Linked DNA regions of Homo sapiens: all the other regions are linked to region 1. The links are contacts of gene promoters, found by promoter capture Hi-C in human tissues and cell types (Jung and others, 2019). All regions are on one chromosome and are shown on one strand. Each heading gives the region's core, a stretch centred on a gene start or on the middle of the fragment in contact. The rest is flanking DNA. Distances are from core to core; before and after follow the strand shown.

Region 1 (4,922 bases), core at 1,017-3,516:
CCAAAATGTATGCTTTCCAAACACCAGGCCTCGAAGTCTCCAAAATCAGCACATTTATTTACCAAACAGTCACGGAGTGCCTACAGTATGCCAGGCACTGGATACAAGGCAGTGGACAAAACAGAGGGTCTCCTGCCCTGGTGGAGTTTACTTACCAGGCAGACAACAGCCACAGAGGCAGGCAGGGGAAGGAGGCCCAATGTATTCTAAGCTGCGCTGTGGGTTGGAGCTCTCCAGCTCTCATATGGGAGTGAGTCATTCACATGGTCACTGCCCCCCACCCGAAATGGAAATGGGCTTTTGGGCAGGGTCAAGGTAAACGGAGTTAGTAGAGGGAAGGACTACTTCTCTTTCTGAAGTAGGGGGGCTTCCCTCAAAAGGGAAAAACTTCCGAGTGTTAAAAACCATTCCAAACAAGCCCCTGGTCCCTGGCTAAGGAGGTGGGCGTGGAGGGAGAAACTGAGGTGTGCGGCGCACCCCTCCGGCAGCGATCACTCCGTAGCTGGAGGCACAGCGGACGTCGGACAAGGGGGAGCTCAGCCCGCACGACACCCACTTAGGACGTGGGGAAGCTCGGCCCGCACGACACCCACCTGCGCCGCGGGAGCTCGCGCGGGGCCCCGCCCCCTCCCCTGGCGGCGCGGGCACTGAATGGGCAGCTCCGGATCCAGCCATCCCCGCCATCGCCGCCACCCCTCCCCCGGCCTTGGGCTCCCAGCGCCGCTGCCGTCACTGGGCGGGGAGCTGCGGGGCTGCGAAGCAAACAAGCCGGGAGCGCCGGCCGGGTCCCCCGGGCAGAGGGGCGCTGCCCTCCCCCATCCGAGAAAGGGGAAGGAGGCGCAGCCCGTCCAGGACCCGCCCCGCCCGGCCCAGGTTCGGCCCGGGTGCCCGCGCCGGGGGGTGGGCGCGGACCTTTCTGCCCCCTGGGCCGCGCGGGCCAGGGCGCGAGCCCCCCGGGGTTCTTGACTCGACTTTACCTCCTTCTTCACGTTCCACAGCAGTTTCTCTTTGACTGCGTCCTCTGCGCTGCCCATGGTGTGGCAGGAGGCGGCGCCGAGCGGTCCTCAGAGCCCCCGCGCCCTCGCCGCCTCCGCGCCTCTCGGCTCAGCGCCCCACGCGCAAGGCGGAGCCCCCGCCCGCCGCGCTCCCGGCCCGCCGCCGCCGCCGCCGCCGCAGCCACTGCCCGGTGCTCGGCTCCGCAGCCATCTTCCGAGCCCCGCACAGACGTCAGGCGGCAGGCCCGGCCCCTTCCCACAGCCGGAGGGGGGTTGCGCACAGCGACGGGGGATCGGGGCGGGGAGAGGCCGTGCGCGCCTAGGGGCGGCAGACCCGGGCGCGCGCCACGGGGGTCGCTGTCATGGCAACGCACCCGCTCCCGCATGGAGGGCGCGAAGCCGCATTGTGAGCGCTGGCCCTGGAGCCCGCGGCCCCGCGGCTGAGAGCGAGCCTCGGTCCCGCTGAAGCTCCCCTGACTTCTGCCTGCTCCCTCTCCCGACGGGACGGAAAGGGCCGGGGCTCGGGCATGGGGTCCCCTGCGGTCCGAGCCTGCCCACGGCGAAGCCGGTGCAGCCTGGCCCCGTGACCCCTCTGAATCCCCGTCCGGCCGTCGCCGTGCAGTTGTCAAGTTTCTGGGAAGATTAGTGGGAGCGCAGCCGCCCGAGCCCGACGGCCGGAGGGTCGCGGCCAGTCCCCCTTGCCGGGTCGCCACGTCCCACAAGGTCCTTCCCGGCCGCTCCGTGGGAGGCGGGGCGCAGGTTGGAGTAACAGGGACGGGCTTGAGCTGGTACGGAACCGGGCAAGGTGAGAGAAGTGTCTTCCACGCGATTCCCAAGCCTCGCTAGGGAATCGAGGGAGAAGAAAGGTTGCTCAGAGTGATAAAGAACATGCCGTTGCAAACGGAAGAGCAACGTGCCCGAATCTAGGTGACAGGAAGGGCTTAGGCCTTTTCGGCACGAATGGAGCCTTCCAGTCAACATGCTTCTACGTGATGCAGCTTTATAGCGCAAAAAAATGACAATGCAAGGGGTACAAACAGCCCTGCTAGACCAACAGCCCGAGCCTCGACAGTCTACATCCGGCGCCTTCAAGCCCCCAACCACACACTGCGAAGTGGGAAAAGTTCCCAGCGCGGCTTGGCGAACCCGCTAACACGGCGCTCTCACGAGCTGCTGGAAAAGACCTTCGCGAGAGGGCGCAGGGAGTCCCGCTCCCTGGAGGGCCCGCCCCCTTGGAGGGGACCGGAAGCGCTTGTCCTGGCCCGGAAGCAGTGCTGACTCCGTACACGCGCGCTGCGGCATGGCGGCCCACCGCCCCGGCCCGCTCAAGCAGCAGAATAAAGCTCATAAAGGCGGACGGCATCGGGGTCGGGGATCTGCACAGCGGGACGGCAAGGGTAAGGAGATAACGTAGAAGGAATAAGGGCTATTTGGCCGTTATTAACTCTTTTTCCTCATGCCCAGACTGAGCTTCTGTCTCCCGTCTGGGCTCCACGCGAAAGGCCCTTTCTAAGGTGGGCGGAGAGGAGTCCCTTTTCTTGACCTTGTGGGGCCGATCACACCAGCCCCTTCTAATCTGCCATTCAGGCCGTCTGGCACTGAAAACCCTAAGCAAGAAGGTGAGAAAAGAACTCAGCAGAGTCGACCAGAGGCATCGCGCCAGCCAGCTCCGAAAGCAGAAGAAGGAGGCGGTGAGAGGAGCGGGATTTGGGAGAATGCGGCTTCTCTGGTGTTCTAGGTGGCTAATGCCTCGAAGTGGAAAATGAGACCGGGAGGAGGGTCCAGGGACAGAGCATAGCCCTAGAGCACGTGTCGAGCGTGCAGGTCTAGCATTCTTTGCTTTGGTCAGAATTCCTGCCACCCCGCTGGCATACCTGTGGTCTTTTACTAGAGAGATGCTGGTTTTGGGTAGGGGGAGCATCTGTGGGAGTGGAAATGCAATGCTGGAGTGAAGTACTGAGACACTGAGATGTTCTCGGATATCTTTCTATTTTCAGGTTCTGGCAGAGAAGAGACAGCTGGGTGGCAAGGATGGCCCTCCTCATCAGGTACTGGTGGTGCCCCTGCACAGCAGAATTTCCCTGCCAGAGGCCATGCAGCTGCTTCAAGATAGGGACACTGGAACAGTACACTTGAATGAATTGGGAAACACCCAGAACTTTATGCTGCTGTGCCCCCGCTTGAAACATCGGTGGTTTTTCACCTCAGCAAGGCCAGGTTAGAGTATACACCAATATTTTGTATTATGTTTGAGTAGTGGTATTTTTTTTTTTTTTTTTTAGAATAATGTGCTGGTGCCAACCACCTCTTCTTACTGTGTCTTCTATCTGCAGGGGATCTGCACGTTGTGTTAGACATGGCTAAAGTAGCTGATACCATCCTGTTCCTCCTTGATCCACTAGAAGGCTGGGACAGCACCGGTGATTACTGTCTTTCCTGCCTCTTTGCTCAGGGCCTTCCGACCTATAGTAAGTGAGTTAGCATTTATTGTGCACCTTTAATTTGTCAGGCACTATGCCTGGTATTTGATACAGGAATACAACTGATGGATCATATTCAGCTGGTGGTGGGATGTACACATATGGATTAAACTTGATCCATTGTTTACAGATTATCACTCAGGGTGTCTTTTTGTTTTTGGCTGTCCTTTGCCCAGAGAAACAAGGATATGAAGTTTGATTTCACTGTGAAATTCCTTCAGGGTAGTTCAGTGTTGGGCTTCCCAGTGATCTCTGGGCTTGCAACTGAGCTATTAGGTTGTTTGTGAACTGCAGAGGGATTTTTATGTAATGAAGCAGTAGGTCATGAAGCGTTTTCTCTTTCGCTTACAGCACTAGCTGTCCAGGGGATTTCTGGCCTCCCACTGAAGAAACAAATAGATACCAGGAAGAAGCTAAGTAAAGCAGTGGAGAAGCGCTTTCCGCATGACAAACTCCTCTTGTTAGACACTCAACAGGAGGCAGGGATGCTGCTTAGGCAGTTGGCTAACCAGAAGCAACAGCATCTTGCTTTTCGAGATCGGCGGGCCTACCTATTTGCCCATGCTGTTGATTTTGTTCCTAGTGAAGAGAATAACTTGGTGGGCACCTTGAAAATTTCAGGCTATGTTCGAGGGCAGACTCTGAATGTCAATAGGTTGCTGCATATCGTTGGATATGGTGATTTCCAGATGAAACAGATAGATGCCCCCGGAGACCCTTTCCCTTTAAATCCTAGAGGAATTAAACCCCAAAAGGACCCAGACATGGCAATGGAGGTAAGACTGATATTCTTAATTCATGTTCATATGAAAGTTGGCACAGGAAGGAAACTTAAATTCAGAGAAGATAGTCTGTACACTTAGGTGAATGAGGAGACTGCTAGTCTGAAGTAAGGCAATAGTCAGTTATAAATAGGTTGATAAATCACATATTTATCCAGCACTTTCTAGGTAGTCTGCACTGTGATTGGCTCTGAGTTTATAGAACACACTCAAGATGTGGTTGCTTTCCTCAAGGGACTTAATTGGGCTGGAACAAAATGGCATGTGTGAAATAAAGATTGAGATAGCATATGGTTAGAGTGCGGACCAGCAGTGGAAGTTGAGAAAGTAGACTAGCAAGCTTCACATAAGAGATCAGACTTGAGCTAGGTGTTGAGAAGGATAAATGTGATTTATGAGTTGAAGAGGGATAAAAGAATATCCTAGAAGATAAGAGACAGAATGAACCTAGGCACAGTGGTGGATCAAAGGGTTTATGTGAACCTTGAAGAAATCAGCTTGATGGGAGTGAGGTACGTAATAAATGGATAGGAGTGGGAGCAGATTAAGAAAGACCTCAAGAGCCAAGCAGAGACTTAAAATACCCTGGAAATTAGAAAACAGCCATTGGAAAAGTTTTGACAAGTTTTAGCATTCTGTCGCACTCATCTTATACATGAGGACTG
Region 2 (4,922 bases), core at 677-3,176, 1.8 Mb before region 1:
AGCTGCATCTGTGTGTAGCTGCCATGTTTGTGCAACCCCAAAATGGCTCATTGTGTAGACAGGAACAGAACTAGGGCAGAGTGCGAGCTGACAGTGTTTGCTTTGCTTTATTGTCTCTATTTTGAAATGTAGAAATGAAATTGTTTCAGGGATTTTCATTACCATTATCATTAAGCGACTATCAGTTGTAGAATTTTGAGTTACTTTTGATACATTCACAGAATACCTTGAAATTTTTCATGGTACATTCAGTCACCTAGCACAGTTGCTGGCACACAGTAGGGCTCAGAAGTCATTTGTTGCGTAAATTTTTGATGACTGCTAATCTAGAGTAGGTAAAGCTATTGGGGGATTCAGAAAGATAAATGTAAGCAAAGACAAGAAAAGGGAAACACTAAAACAGACATTAAGGTGGAAAGGCCAAGAAACATGGCAGGAATGGAGACGGTGATGTGCTAATCTGTTTAAGAGAACATAACATTCATGGCACATCTTTAGATACCATAGATCTTCAGATCCTAGCTATAAAATTTTCTTTTGTTTTTTTTTTTTCCCTGTTGCTGCTGAACAAATTATAAAATAAATTTTCTACTGAGCCTCAAGCTGCTCTGCCTCTTGGGTCAGTTTTTCTAGTACTACTTAACATGAAAGCTGGATTCTAGAGAGTTGAATAAGTTTTATTCAACAGAGGGAGGCAGAACTCCTAAAAGAAAGAAAGAAACAAACAAACACAAAACCCTATTAAACTACTTAGCACTGTGACTCCTGGGCAAAAAGGGATAGTTTAGGCTGGGCACGGTGGCTTACACCTGTAATCATAGCACTGTGGGAGGACGAGGTAGGTGGATCACGAGGTCAGGAGTTCAAGCCCAGCCTGGCCAAGATGGTGAAACCCTGTCTCTACTAAAAATACAAATTAGTCAAGCGTGGTGGCGGGCTCCTGTAATCCTAGCTACTCAGGAAGCTGAGGCAGGAGAATCGCTTGAACCTGGGAGGTGGAGGTTGCAGTGAGCCGAGATCGCACCACTGCACTCTAGCCTGGGTGATAGAGCGAGACTCCGTCTCAAAAAAAAAGAAGGGCCAGTTTATATTGTGTGCCAGCTTCTCTGTGGGAACACTGTCTGTTTATAAGGGATTAGTCAAAACAAGCTTCTAACAGTTTATTTTTTGTCTAAATTCGGTCTGGTTTTGTTCTGATTACATTTTACATTTTCCTCTTCTAGGAAGGCGCTGCGGCACATGCCTCCACTCTCTCTCTCACCAGGATCTACAGATTTCTCAACTTTCCTCTCCCCTAATGTGCTGGAAGAAGTGGACAGTTTCCTCATAAGGATAACTAGGTAAAATCAAGGCTGATGAGGGTAAACTCTGTGAGGAATGGAGTGCACGTATGCTTGTTAAGTCTTTAAAAAATATATATTAATCTTTTAACGATCACCACTAAAAATGGTTGCTTTTTAGCAGCTAAAGAGAAAGTGACATAATAGTTCACTCATCTAAAGTCCACTATTTAGCAGTATCACCTGACCTGAAGAATTGGGAAGGTTGGTGAGGGGTGTTGCAGGGCCCAAGGGGAGTAGTCCTGTGATTCTGATAGAACAGATGTCTCAAAGTCCAACTGGCATAGCCTTCCCTCACTCAGAACCTGCTGACCTTCACATGCAGGTCCAGGGAGCCTGATTACCTACAGAACTGGGAAAGGGCACCTGGATAGCTTGATAGCAGTGACCACTTTGTGTAGGGACACTCACTTCTGCCTCAGTGAGCCCTGAGGACATTATTGCATTAGAGGTCAAACCAGTCCCTGAGCCATCTAGACAGTTTTTAACGTTTCAGTATAATGTGTTTAAATTAAAAGCAAAGAAGTGTAATTCAGTGTGATACATTTTTAGTGCTTCAAGCATAAACCCTCAACTCTCTGGTCAAGCCAGCTCATTACCCAAGGCTTCTTAATAGCAGAGGCTTATTACAGTAGCGTATTGGTATTATTTAATATTTAAAGATTAAAGATTATAGAAGTGAGGCTTTCATTCCCTGGCTCTCTGGATTGATTTAATTTTTCCTTAGGTTACCTTAAGGATTTTGAAAAATATTTCGGATAAACCTGTAGAAAGCATATGGCAGGTTAATGTTACTTGTGTTGATCACTTACATGGGGTTTGAGCTACCTGGATTTTTTCATGTTTTTAAGAAGTGAAAAGTTTTTGCTCTTTGCTTATAGCTGCTGTTCTACCCCAGAGGTAGAACTGACTCTTCTGGCTTTTGCTCTCGCAAGAGGAAGTGTTGCCAAAGTCATGAGCTCTCTATGCACCATCACTGACCATCTGGACACGCAGTATGATGCCTCATCCCTCATCTTGTCCATGGCGTCAGTCAGACAGAACCTGCTCCTCAAATATGGTAAATATGGTAAAACATGGGGGTGATAGAAATGTCAACAGTGGACAAATCGTAAAACCATTCTTCGCCATATGACCTCCTGGTATCTTCTCATCTTTTTGGGTTGTTATAGTTACACCATGATTCCTGGATGAACGTATCCTCTGAGTATCAGACCTTACTAGGATTGGCAGGGAGAAGGGGGATTTAGGTTCATTTATGTGATGGCAGTATCACCAGAAGAGGACACTTGATTGTCCACAAGGCTATACTCCCATGATCTGCTTGCAAAATTACTCAGGTCTGGTGGCCATTTGAACACAGCCATCTTTGGTGAAGTACTGAAGTGTCTCATTGTGTAGGCCAAGAGGGTTGGAGTAGTTCTTACCTGTTGGAGGGAGGAAACTAGCCAAGATACGGTGCAAAGGGATCTTTGTCTTAGAATGCATTCCTCTGCATTCCCGTGATAGCTGCTCTGAAGGATTTGGACACCTGTCTGCCACTGCTTTCCCCCCTTGGGCCTAGCAGTAATTCATATGAGCACTTTTCTACCAAACCAGGATGGGGCCTTATAATCCTTCTCAACATGGGAGCCCATAAAGTCACTCCCAAAAGACTGCAGTGCAGCACTTCTACTTGTGAGTGCAGCCTTCCTGGACTCCACAATATGTGGTGTTGGGTCTCATCCTGTTGGCAGTATTCCAGTGACATTTCTACCCTTTTATTTATTTTGAGAGAGAGTGTCTTGCTGTGTTGCACAGATTGGAGTGCAGTGGCATGATCACGGCTCACTGCAGCCTTGACCTCCCAGGCTCAAGTGATCCTCCTGTGTCACTCTCCCGAGTACCTGGGACCACAGGTGCATGCCAGCATACCTGGTTAATTTTTAAAAATTTTTTGTAGAGATTGGGTCTCACTATGTTGCCCAAGCTGGTCTTGAACTCCTAGGCTGAAGCAGTCCTCCCACCTTGGCCTCTTAAAATCCTGGGACTGCAGGCGTGAGCCACCACACCTGGCTTCTGCCGTGAGGTTTCTACCTTCGTCTTAGTGTGACTGACTTAATGGCTTCTTTTTATGTTTATTTTTATTTTTATTTATTTATTTTTTGAGACAGAGTCCTGCTCTGTCATCCAGGTTGGAGTGCACTGGCATAATCTGAGCCCACTGCAGCGTCCACCTCCCAGGTTCAGGTGATCCTCTTGCCTCAGCCTCCTGAGTAGCTGGGACTATAGGCATGGGTCACCACACCTGGCTAGTTAAAAATTTTTTTTTTTTTAGAAATGAGCTCTCCCCATGTTGACCAGGCTGGTCTCAAACTCCTGGACTCAAGCAGTACTCCCACCTCAGCCTCCCAAAGTGCTGGAATTTACAGGCATGAGCCATGATGCCCAGCCTGTTTAATTTTTTTTTTCTTTTGCCTGTTTAAATTTTTAAGTTAGACAATTGGTGTCCTGTAAATCTAGTTTCCTCCCTAAATTTTGAAAGGTTATTTTCTTGGGTGGTTGGGGGTTGCACTGGTCAACAGCCCAGAGCAGCCATGGCTGGATAGAAGGGATAGCAGGTAGTGTCTGGAAGCTGAATAGAATTTAGATTAATGGTTGTTCAGGCAGGGAGCAGTGGATAGGAAGGAATGGGGTAATGTTCTAGTTCTAGGTCATATCATAGGTGAACAGGTGTACATTCTATTATTAAAACAAAAGGAAAACATTTTCAGATCATCATAGCAAAAGTTGATTTATATGTATATATAAATATATATTTTTTTTTGCCAAAGCCAAGTGTTCTGAAAAAGTTGATTTTTCTAATTCTTGAAACAGAAATTTTGCCTGCAGAGATGATTTAAAGAAACGAGACCTAAAATATTTTATATTTAAATGCAATTGTAATAAAGTTAATTATTGGCTCCAAAACAGTATCTTAGGAATCACCCCCCCAAATGTGTTCAATCTATGTTATCAACCTATGTCTTATAATGTCCTTTTTTCAGAACAATGATTGTTCTAGAAAGCTGTCCTTGGAATCACTCAGGGCCATAGCTGTACTTTGTCTCTTTCAGGAAAGTACAAAGGGATGGTGTCAACTTTTGTCTGATATTACTGCTCTATTTCAGCTTTTAAACAGGGAGATTTTTAGTTAGCAGTCTGGGTAGCCACAGGACTCTATTTCCACAGATAGGCATGCTAGTTTCCAGTTCTTCATATTTTAGCTTACAGCTTGGTCTTCCTTTTCTTTGGTCAGGTAAACCTCTCCAGTTGACTCTTCAGGCATGTGATGTCAAAGGAAAAGAAGATAAGTCTGGACCCGAAAACCTCCTTGTTGAACCGTGGACAAGGGATGGTGAGTGGTGGGTCTGTCTGTTTCTAGTGTGCTCGGTAGACAGGAGTCAGCTGTGTGAAAGCACACTCCAGACTTTGAAATGTTTGAGGCGTGCAGTCTTCAATTTTAGGTTGTTTCTCAGTTGGCAGTGGTTGCTGAGCAATTTGTGTGGTGTAGTTGTAATCTGCCTAGGTGTCAATGACTATAACAACTCAGAAGTATTTGAG
Region 3 (4,922 bases), core at 934-3,433, 1.0 Mb after region 1:
TGTGGGGTACTGGGTCAGAGTCCTTCCAGTGGTCTCTGTGGGGTACTGGGTCAGAGTCCTTCTAGCAATCTCTGTGGAGTACCGAGTCAGAGTCCTTCTAGCGGTCTCTGTGGGGTACTGGCTTAGAGTCCTTCCAGTGGGCCCTCTGAGGTACTGGGTCAGAGTCCTTCCAGCAGTCTCTGTGGTGTACTTGGTCAGGGTCCTTCCAGTGGTCTCTGTCGGGTACTGGGTCAGAGTCCTTCCAGTGGGCCCTCTGGAGTACTGGGTCAGAGTCCTTCCCATGGTTTCTGTGGGGTACTGGGTCAGAGTCCTTCCAGCAGTCTCTGTGGGGTACCGGGCCAGAGTCCTTCCAGTGGTCCCTGTGGGGTACTGGGTCAGAGTCCTTCCAGTGGTCTCTGTGGGGTACTGGGTCAGAGTCCTTCCAGTGTTTCTCTGTGGGATACTGGATCAGAGTCCTTCCAGCGGTCTCTGTGGGGTACTGGGTCAGAGTCCTTCTGGCTGTCTCTGTGGGGTACTGGCTCAGAGTCCTTCCAGCTATCTCTGTGGGGTACAGGGTCAGAGTCCTTCTGGCTATCTCTGTGGGGTACTGGGTCAGAGTCCTTCCAGGGTTTCTCTGTGGGGTACTGGATCAGAGTCCTTCCAGCGGTCTCTGTGGGGTACTGGCTCAGAGTCCTTCCGGCTATCTATGTGGGGTACAGGGTCAGAGTCCTTCCGGCTATCTCTGTGGGATACCGGGTCAGAGTCCTTCCAGTGTTTCTCTGTGGGGTACTGGATCAGAGTCCTTCCAGCAGTCTCTGTGGGGTACTGGCTCAGAGTCCTTCCGGCTGTCTCTGTGGGGTACTGGCTCAGAGTCCTTCCGGCTGTCTCTGTGGGGTACTGGGTCAGAGACCCGTGCCAGGCCACTTCCTCCTTGTTTTAAAACCTATGGGAGGGACTGCATAACGGGTATGGTGATTTCTTTTGGAATCATGAGGTGTTTTCAAACCACGTAGAAGTGGTAGTTACACAAATGGGAATGTACTCAATGCCACTGAATTGTGCCATTTATTTATTTACTTTTTGAGACGGATTCTTACTCCGTCGTCCAGGCTGGAGGGCAATGGTGTGATCTCGGCTCACTGCAACCTCCGCCTCCCAGGTTCAAGGGATTCTCCTGCCTCACCCTCCCTAGTAGTTGGGACTACAGGCACCCACCACCACGCCCAGCTAATTTTTGTATTTTTAGTAGAGACGGGGTTTTGCCACGTTGGCCAGGCTGGTCTCGAACTCCTGACCTCAGGTGATCCACCCTCCTCGGCCTCTTGGCCTCCCAAAGTACTGGGATTACAGGCGTGAGCCACCGCACCCAGCCAGAATTGTACACTTTAAAAAGAAAACAAAGACAAAAACTATCTTTCTTAGTTTAAGCTACTATAACAAATTACCATAGACTGGGTAGTTTGAACAACCTATATTTCCCACCGTTCTGGAGGCTGGGAAGTCTGAGGTGAAGGTGCAGGCAGACCCAGCGTCGGCCGAGGGTCCTGGTTTGCAGATGGACACTCCGTCCCCACCTGGCAGACAGCAGAGACAGAGAGACAGAGCAAGCCTCGTGTCTCTGTTTTTTGAGACGGAGTCTTGCTCTATCCCCCAGGCTGGAGTGCAGTGGCGTGATCTCGGCTCACTGCAAGCTCCGTCTCCCGGGTTCAGGCCATTCTCCTGTCTCAGCCTCCCAAGTAGCTGGGACTATGGGCTCCCACCCCACACCCGGCTAATTTTTTGGTATTTTTAGTAGAGACGGGGTTTCACCGTGTTAGTCGGGATGGTCTCGATCTCCTGACCTCATGATCCACCCACCTTGGCCTCCCAAAGTGCTGGGATTACAGGCGTGAGCCACCGCGCCAGGCCCCCTATATCTCTTCTTAAAAGGTCACTAAGCTTGGCCAGGTGCGGTGGCTCACGCCTATAATCCCAGCACTTTGGGAGCCCGAGGTGGGTGGATCACCTGAGTTTGGGAGTTTGAGACCAACCTGACCAACATGGAGAAACCCTGTCTCTACTAAAAATACAAAATTAGCCGGGTGTGGTGGCGGGCGCCTGTAATCCCAGCTACTCGGGGGGCTGAGGCAGAAGAATCGCTTGAACCCAGGAGGCAGAAGTTGTGGTGAGCCAAGATCACACCACTGCACTCCAGCCTGGGCAACAAGAGCAAAACTCCATCTCCAGAAAGAAAAAACAAAAACAGCCACTAATGTCATTCATGAAGGCTCTGCCTGCCTGACCGAATCATCTCTCAAAGCCCCACATCCTAATACCATCACATTGGAGGTTCAGATGTCCACATATGAATTTTTTTTTTTTTGAGACGGAGTCTTGCTCTGTTGCCCAGGCTGGAGTGCAGTGGTACGATCTCTGCTCACTGCAAGCTCCGTCTCCCGGGTTCACGCCATTCTCCTGCCTCAGCCTCCCAAGTAGCTGGGACTACAGGTGCCCATCACGACGCCCGGCTAATTTTTTGTATTTTTAGTAGAGACAGGGTTTCACCGTGTTAGCCAGGATGGTCTTGATCTCCTGACCTCGTGATCCGCCCTCCTCGGCCTCCCAAAGTGCTGGGATTACAGGCGTGAGCCACCGCGCCCAGCCGTCCACATATGAATTTTAGAGGGACACAAATATTCAGTCCATAACACTACCTAAATGGTCCTTCCTGTTTTCTTTTTTGTTTTTGAGATGGAGTCTCACTCTTTTGCCCAGGCTGGAGTACAGTAGCACAATCTCGGCTCATTGCAACCTCTGCCTCCCAGGTTCAAGTGATTCTCTTGCCTCAGCCTCCTGAGTAGCTGGGACTACAGGCGGGCGCCACCATGCCAGGCTAATTTTTATATTTTTAGGAGAGATGGGGTTTTCCCATGTTGGCCAGGCTGGTCTCGAACTCCTGACCTCAAGTGATCCTCCTGCCTCGGCCTCCCAAAGTGCTGGGATTTCAAGTGTGAGCCACTGTGCCCGGCCCAGACTGCATTTTTAAATTATTTGAATTATGTTTTTAACAAGAGAAATAGGTTGCTTTGAAAACATCAGTATTGAAAACATGTTTCTTAATGGATGGATGGAGACTGTTCTGTTTAGCCAAGAGCACTTCAGAAGCTCCACTCTGGTAGGAGATTGGAGCACTGAACCATTAATGGAGCCGTGAGCCCTGTGCATCGGATCATATCCGATCATTTATGGTGGTGCACAGTTGGCGACTATGGCGTCTGGGCCGTGGCTCCTCTGGAACCCCATCAAGCACGACTTGATATTTATATTTAACTGAACATGGTTCCAGCTTTTAAACTTCCTGCTGAAGGTGACCTATGCAAAGAGAACCCAAGAGTGGCTCTCCCAGCTCGCCTCGGATAAGGGTCTTGCTAATTTCCCTTCTCACAGCCGCTTTCCGCTTCCAGCACGGCTTCCCACCCGGGACACTGTCTAGGCGTGTAGGTGCTATGCTGTAGACGCTAGGTAGGTAAGTGCCTCATCCAAGTTGATACCCTTTTAAGAAAGCAATGGAGAATTCACAGTAAATGCTTGATCTTGTAACACCTCTTTGTGACTCTATTCTGGTCCTGCTGTTTGATCCAGCCCATTTATTAGTTCATAAAAATTTCACATAAACTAAATTTCATCTCCTAGGCTGAGTTCTATCAGATTAATATTTAACTCCAAGGAAATGTGGACATTTGCCTTAAAGAAGTTGTTTATTCCAGGAAAGAATCTATATTGTTATTATTTGAATGTCTTTGATTATGGTATGAAATTTTATTTTAGCCCAAAGCTCCCAGCAATCTTCTGTTGAAAATGGCAAATTTTCATGGATCAATCCACTGGTCTAGCATCTAAGCATTTTTATTACATTTTTTTCTGACAAAATCAATATGTGTTTATTATAGAAAATATGGATCAAGGCCGGGTGCAGTAGCGCACGCCTTTAATCCCAGAACTTTGGGAGGCCGAGGTGGGTGGATCACCTGAGGTCAGGAGTTTGAGACCAGCCTGGCCAACATGGTGAAACCCCGTCTCTACTAAAAATACAAAAATTAGCCGGGCTTGGTGGCAGGCACCTGTGATCCCACCTACTTGGGAGGCTGAGGCAGAAGAATTGCTCAAATGCGGGAGGCAGAGATTGCAGTGAGCCGAGATCGCGCCATTGCACTCCAGCCAACAAGAACGAGACTCTGTCTCAAAAAAAAAAAAAAAAAAAAAAGGATCAGATAGAAAAATAAAAATACAAGGAAAATAAAAATTATCTGTTTCCCCAACATTCTATGATAATAGCTGTTAACACTGCATATTTTTGTTTTAAATGTCTAAAAACTTCCAAGCATTTTTTTTTTACAAAATTGGGATCATATGGTACATCCATTTTTCATGTAACAGCATGCATAGCTTCTCGTGTCATTAAACTTTCATATGAAGCATACTTTGTAATGGCTGCATTGAATTTTATTATGCAGATGCCCAACCCCTGATTAATTAACTTTTCAAATATAACCAACATCCTATGTTTAACTTTAAAGTGGTTTCCAATTTTTATTCCATTAAAATAACCAAGCAACACTTGATTTTCCTTTTGAAAAATCTTGAAAGCAGGATACATTCTCCAACTGCCAGACTGCCGTTATATCTACAGCCCTGTGGTTTCTGAGTGTGTGAGTGTGTGTGAGTGTGTGTGTGTGTGTGTGTGTGTGTGTTTTATGAACTGGGCTCCGTCGAGTGCTCCAATTGGCTGAGAGGAATGTCTGGGCTATTTCTTGACCTTGTGGATATAAAAAGTAGAGAGGCCAAGCGAGATGACCCTGGAGTGGAGGGTAGCACTGATCTCTTTAGAGAGCGCCAGGAATAGTTTTCATGGAGGTAGGGTAGAGGAGGTGGATGACCCCGGAAACAGGGCGGAGGAGGCAGAT

What was found. The method cuts DNA at HindIII sites, captures the fragments that hold promoters and counts their contacts. A contact is called where the count stands out against the background at its distance.
Region 2: a contact is called between a fragment that was not itself captured here and the fragment with the promoter of TSR1 in region 1, in 1 of the 25 tissues and cell types used here (H1 embryonic stem cells).
Region 3: a fragment that was not itself captured here is called in contact with the fragment with the promoter of TSR1 in region 1 in 2 of the 25 tissues and cell types used here (heart left ventricle and stomach).

Annotation. Positions count from the first base shown.
Region 1 is chr17:2,333,801-2,338,722 of GRCh38, reverse strand. TSR1 (TSR1 ribosome maturation factor) reads left to right here and starts at 2,266. Exons shown (of 15, transcript NM_018128.5): 1 at 2,266-2,392; 2 at 2,583-2,686; 3 at 2,993-3,212; 4 at 3,329-3,463; 5 at 3,827-4,251. The coding sequence starts at 2,296. It overlaps SGSM2 (small G protein signaling modulator 2), which reads right to left and starts at 1,222. Exons shown (of 24, transcript NM_014853.3): 1 at 978-1,222. The coding sequence starts at 1,034. RefSeq lists silencers at 539-848, 879-978, 1,079-1,188, 1,289-1,598, 1,629-1,758 and an enhancer at 1,989-2,098. The HindIII fragment of the contact is 7,910 bases long and covers 1-4,922 here.
Region 2 is chr17:4,102,111-4,107,032 of GRCh38, reverse strand. It overlaps ZZEF1 (zinc finger ZZ-type and EF-hand domain containing 1), which reads left to right. Exons shown (of 55, transcript NM_015113.4): 7 at 1,224-1,340; 8 at 2,222-2,400; 9 at 4,618-4,716. Among named protein-coding and RNA genes, the nearest start is that of ZZEF1, 38 kb to the left of the region's middle. The HindIII fragment of the contact is 5,712 bases long and covers 1-4,782 here.
Region 3 is chr17:1,324,443-1,329,364 of GRCh38, reverse strand. No RefSeq gene overlaps it. Among named protein-coding and RNA genes, the nearest start is that of TRARG1, 47 kb to the right of the region's middle. The HindIII fragment of the contact is 9,860 bases long and covers 1-4,922 here.